Linked DNA regions of Homo sapiens: region 1 is linked to region 2. Evidence: promoter capture Hi-C in 16 types of primary human blood cells and fetal thymus (Javierre and others, 2016). All regions are on one chromosome and are shown on one strand. The core of a region is centred on a gene start or on the middle of the fragment in contact, and the rest is flanking DNA. Distances in the headings are between cores, read along the strand shown. Region 1 has its middle 6.7 kb from the start of SOX12. Region 2 holds the start of DEFB132 (defensin beta 132).

Region 1 (3,032 bases), core at 378-2,877, 74 kb before region 2:
TGTATGCCCGGCACCTAGCACGCGGCCTGGTCAAGGCAAACCTTCCCCACCCTGCCCCCCACCTTTTTTTTTTTACAGGCAGGGTCTAACTCTGTCACCCAGGCTGGAGTGTAGTGGCATGACCATGGCTCACTGCAGCCTTGAACTCCTGGGCACAAGAGATCTTCCCAGCTCAGCCTCCCGAGTAGCTGGGACTATAGGCTCACGCCACTGTGCCTGGATACTTTTTTAAATTGTATTTTTTAGAGGCAGGGTCTTGTTTCCTTGCCCAGGCTGGTCTCAAACTCCTGGCTTCAAGTGATCCTCCCACCTCGGCCTCCCATAGTGCTGGGATTACAGGCATGAGCCACCATGCCCAGCCTAGACCCTTAAGAATGTTTGTTGAATGGGTGGGTGAATGTGCTGAGGCATGGAGTCCAGTCCAGAGTCATTCCTTCCTTATGAAGCTTACATACAAATTAGAGAGAGAGAGACAAAAAGTAAAAACTACAGGTGATAAATGCCAGATAGTGATAAATGCTATTCAGAAAAATAAAGCAAAGTAACAGGATAGTTTATGGAGGATGTTACTTTATATGGATGGTCAGGGAGGACACTGTGAGGTACTCCCTGTGCCTACTCTAGGGCGCCCTGGGAGCTGAGACCTGAAGGAAGTAAGACATGTGGCTATCTGGAGGAAGGGTATTTTTTTGTTTGTTTTTTGAGGTGAAGTCTCGCTTTGTCTTGCCCAGGCTGGAGTGCAGTGATGCGATCTCAGCTCACTGCAGCCTCTGCTTCCTGGATTCAAGTGATTCTCCTGTCTCAGCCTCCTGAGTAACTGGGACTGCAGGCATGTGTCACCACGCCCAGCTAATTTTGTATTTTTAGTAGAGAAGGGGTTTCGCCATGTTGGCCAGGCTGGTCTCGAACTCCTGACTTCAGGTGATCCACCCACCTGGACCTCCCAAAGTGCTAGGATTAGAAGCGTGAGCCACCTCGCCCAGCCGGAGGAAGGGTATCTTAAGCAGAGGGAAAAGCATGTGCAAAAGCCTTCAGGCGGAAGTGTGATTGGCACTTTTGAGGAACAGCAAGACCAGTGTGACTGGGCATGTGAGAAACAGAAAAAGTAGAAGATGAAGCCGAGGCTGAGCCACAGGCTACTTCTTATGGGGCTTTGCAGGCCATGCTGAGGACTCTGGCTTCTACTGAATGAGAGTCTTTGGAGAATTTTGAACAGTGGCAGGGTGTGCTGGGATTTACAGTTTAACCAGATCACTCCGGCTGCTGTGTGGACAATAAGACTATGAGTGGGGCAAAGGAAAACGCAAGGAGCCCTTCGTATGCCCTTATATCCTGGACCCAGAGGCCATGGAAGATGTGAGAAGTGACAAGACACAGGGCATATTTTGAAGGTAGAGCCAACAGGGTATAAGGGAGATGGCGCTGGGAGGAAAAGAGGCATCAAGGATAACTGAGAGGCTTTAGCCTTTCATTTCACATCAGCTGTGCAGATGTGGTCTGTGGAAGCAGGCTTGGGAGCACTGTGGAAACAGTTCATTTTTTGGCATGTCCAGTTTGAGGTGCCAATTAGATATATCAGTGGAGATGACAAGAAGGCAGCTAGTCTAGTCATGTCTGGGATGGAGATGTAGACCTGAGAATTCTCAGCTATGATACTTCAGCTTCCCAAGTAGCTGAGACTACAGGTGTGTACCACCGTGCCTGGCTAATTTTTTTAAAAAAAACTTTACTAGAGATTAGGTCTTGCTATGTTGGCCAGGTTGGTCTTGAACTCCTGGACTCAAGAAATCCTCCCACCTTGGCCTCCCGAAGTGCTGGGATTACAGGTGTGTGATAAGCAGAATTCTAAGATGGCCCCCAAGATTCCCAGTCTCTGGTGTAGCTGCCCTAGACAGCCTCCTCCCTTTTGAGTGTGGGCAAATCTAGTATGACAGCTGTCACTCTTATAAGGCTACAATATACTGCAAAGGTGAAGGGATTTTTTGCAGATATAAAATCCCACATTAGTTGATGCCTAATCAAAAAGGAGATTTTCCTGGGTGAGTCTGACCTAATTAGGGAAGGCTTTTTTTTTCTCTCTCTCTTTTTCCTTTTTTTTCTTTTTTTTTTTTTGAGACAGAGTCTTGCTCTGTCGCCCAGGCTGAAGTGCAGTGGCTTGGTCTTGGCTCACTGCAACCTCCGCCTCCCAGGTTCGAGTGATTCTCCTGCCTCAGCCTCCCAAGTAGCTGGGATTACAGGCGACTGCCACCACGCCAGGCTAATTTTTGTATTTTTAGTAGAGAAGGGGTTTCACCATTTGGCCAGGCTGGTCTCGAACTGCTGACCTCAGGTGATCCACCCACCTTGGCCTCCCAAAGTGCTGGGATTACAGGCATGAACACACCATGCCCAGCCAGGAGAGGCTTTTAAAAGAGAGCTTAAACCTTCCCTGAGCCAAGTGACTCCAAGCAGCAGAAAAATTCTCCTCTGGCCTTGACAAAATAAGTTGCAATATTGTGAGAAGGCTGGGGAGGCCCTGTGGGGGCCATGTGGCAAGAAACTGAGCAGCTTGTAGTAATCAAGAGTGGTACTAACTGACAGCCAGCAATAGAACAGGGATCTCTGTCCTATAAGCACAAAGAACTGAATTCTGCCCACTACCGTGAGAGCTTGGAAAAGGCTGCTGAGCTCCAAGAAGGAATGCGGGCCACCAGCACCCCAGCTGCTGCCTTGTGAGATCCTGAGCAGAGACCCAGCTAAGGCATGCTGGACTCCTGATGCATGGAGACTGAAATAACAAATGCATGTTGTTTTACACTGCTAAGCTTGTGGCAATTTGTTACGCAGCAATAGATGAGAAACAATACATCAGCGTATGGTGTTTTGAAAGCCTTGGAAGCAGGGTGGCTCACACCACCCAGGCAAGGGGCATGACCCAGCAATGAGTCAATGCATGAATGGAGTGAGACTCGAGTGGGACTCAGTTCCTTGGCCTGGGACACACCCCGACTCCCACCTCCCAACTGCACAGAACCTTGGTTCTACTCCTCTTA
Region 2 (2,807 bases), core at 200-2,699:
AAGCGTTGCACATGAACAATGCTGTCTCCCCCCAGTGGCAACATGTCCTGCAGTATCCTGGGGTGTTACTCACACATTTTGACCCACCTGCACTGGCTGTATGGGAGAGGACAAGACAGAGAAGTCATGGTTAGAAGCAGCACAGGGCTACTAAAGCGTCAGCGCCAGATGGGAGTGTTTGGCTTTTTGTTCTGAGGTGTATCCTTAGGATGTTGTGCAAATGAGACTTGGGAAAGCCAGTGATGAGGAGACAAAAATCTTCCTGGATTGATGGCCTTGGGGAACTCTGTCTGACGAGCTCTTCTTCTTTGCCAGTATCTGCATCTTTGAAGCTTTTTGCTAAATTTGATACTACAGAATAGGATGTATGGGTAAAAACAGGGGTGGGGAGCCTGGTCTTCACGGTCAGGGAGGAGCTTGGATACTCAAAAGGGAGAAATGGGGCTAGTCTCACTCACCCCACAGGCTCCCTTTTAAGGTGTTTCTACCTTACTTGTTTTCATAGACTCTAAAACTGTAAATATGAGTCAACCTGGGGCAAAGTGGGAGGAGTCAAATCTTTCTCCAAAATCATTAAAAAGAAAATAACGGTTGCCAGTGACAGGGCATTTTTGCATTCACCCAGTGCTGTGCACCATTTCACCATCTGCTGAAATCTGTTTGCCTCAGTGCTCTGTGTCTGCCATTGGCTCACAGCAGGGGCCTCTTCGGAGCACCCTCAAGCCTCTTTGGCTTTCTTCACATCCGTTGCCTGGCCCTCCTCTGATCTCTCTCTCTCCCTGCTCTCTGTGTGTCTGTCTCTCTCTCTTTCTGACCCTGCATTATCTCCTAGCCCCAGGGTTTGAGCTGAACCCATTGCTTACCATCCTGTGGGAACTAGCCCTCTAAGAGGTCTGCTTCCATCCCCCACCTGCCAGCTGTCTGTTGAGCATAGGGATGGGAACCTCAATCTCTTCCTTCTAGGCTCAAAATCTCCTTTGAGCTCCAACCCGGGCTGATCTCAATGGATGCACATGGTGATGACAGAAGCCTTCAGTGTGTCTTAGGAGGTTAGATATAAGGAGCTCACATAAAGTGAAAGAAGATATTTTGGTTTAGGTTGAGGGTGACTATCATTTTAGAATAGAAAACAAATTTTTGTAAAGGTTATATAGGGTGGTGTTTGGGTGTGGGATATCAAGGCTAGTGGTGGTTGTTAGGAGATCTCTACCTTAGACTGGAACTCAGTGGGGTGAGCCCTGCCTCCACCCAACCTGGCTCATCTATCACCAGAGCAACCAGATATGCTAGTGTTCCTCGTTCCCAGTTTTCCTTTCCTCCTATTTATCCAGTTTACCTGGGATCACCTGGGTCAGGAATCCGAGGGCTGCCAAGACCAGGAGCAGGAACTTCATGGCTGAAGGGGTGGCTTGGGGAGCTGGTGGTGGTTTAATGGAGTTGGGTCCCTCTGTAATGTGCTTGGAGCTACTGCCTTTATAGGATCCACATGATGCCAGGATACTGGGCAGTGAACCAAGGGAGACTTTTCTGTTACCCAGAGCAGTCAGATTAGATCAGAATGTCTACTGGACTGGAGCCTGGATTGATTTATTGAGCGCCTGTGTTCTAGACTGTTAGGAGGGGGAGAGGTAGAGCAAACAGTGCGTCGGTTCCCAGCGTTCATCTCTAAAACTATGCGTTCTAGACAGTGTTGGTGAGATGTGGGGAAACTAGCATTCTCTTGGCGTTGTTGCTGGGAGTGTTAATTGGTACAGTTTTTCTTTTGTAGCACAATTTGGCAATATATATCAGAAGCCTTAAAATGTGCCTATTTTTTTACTCAGAAACTTTGTACCTTGGGCTTTTGTTTAATGGGAATAATTGAACAAGTACATAAAGACGTTTATCTCAACATTACAGTAACAGAAAACCAAAAGCTACCTAAATGGTGATAAAACATGGATCTAATCTAATATAGAAAATACAGAATATAATAGAGCAGTATGCAGTTATTAAAATGATGAAAATGTATAAAAATGTAGGCTACAAGATATGCATCTAGAATAACTTAATCTGTGGTAAAGGAACATCTATGTGCCAACATATGTAGGTATATATGTATGTAGTATGTATGCATGTGTATCTATCTATCTATCTATCTATCTATCTATCTATCTATCTATCTGTCATCTATCTATCTATCTGTCTAAAATGTCTGAGTTTGGAGAGAATGATTATGTGTACTTTCATGATTAGAAAAAAAGAGAGTTTATAGAAAAACTACTTATTGTTTGAATTTTAATATGAACACTCTTACCTCTAAATTTTTGCTTTCTTTCCCTAGAGTTTAAGGTTTCTGGAGGCTAGAGACTTTGCCATTTCCACATTCTTCTCAAGAAATATTTTGTGTTTTCCTCCCCCCAATAGCGTCCTTTGGAGTCTGTTTCCCATTGAGACAGTTCTTTTCTGTTCCAGCTCACTTTTCCAGAATCCTTTCTCTAATGTGGTGCCTGCTGTATAAGGGAATAATCTCCGGAGTCCTGGTTTGGGCCAACTGAGTAGAGCAGCTCTAGCTTCTCACGTTTTCCTGGTCTAAAAAACCTGGTTTGATTTCAGGCACAAAACAAAACAAAACAAAAGATCTGGGACTTGGTAAGAATATGTCCCAAGACTTTAGCAGTCTTTACAGTCACTCAGATTTGTAAAAATATCTTAAAATCTGTAATTTTTCCAACTAAGTGATGTAAATTATAATCCTAAAATAAATACAAATCCCTTTGTGCCTTTGGTAAACCTATAACCACAGAAGCAAAGGCTTTTGTGTTTCT

What was found. Contacts are between HindIII fragments. The CHiCAGO score rates a contact against its expected background, and 5 or more counts as called.
Region 1: a fragment that was not itself captured here is called in contact with the fragment with the promoter of DEFB132 in region 2 in 6 of 17 cell types (naive CD8 T cells, total CD8 T cells, naive CD4 T cells and 3 more); the score reaches 6.7 in naive CD8 T cells.

What each region holds. Positions count from the first base shown.
Region 1 is chr20:330,767-333,798 of GRCh38, reverse strand. No RefSeq gene overlaps it. Among named protein-coding and RNA genes, the nearest start is that of SOX12, 6.7 kb to the right of the region's middle. RefSeq lists an enhancer at 2,880-3,032. The HindIII fragment of the contact is 2,358 bases long and covers 449-2,806 here.
Region 2 is chr20:256,366-259,172 of GRCh38, reverse strand. DEFB132 (defensin beta 132) reads right to left here and starts at 1,449. Exons shown (of 2, transcript NM_207469.3): 1 at 1,337-1,449; 2 at 1-96. The coding sequence starts at 1,394. The HindIII fragment of the contact is 5,497 bases long and covers 335-2,807 here.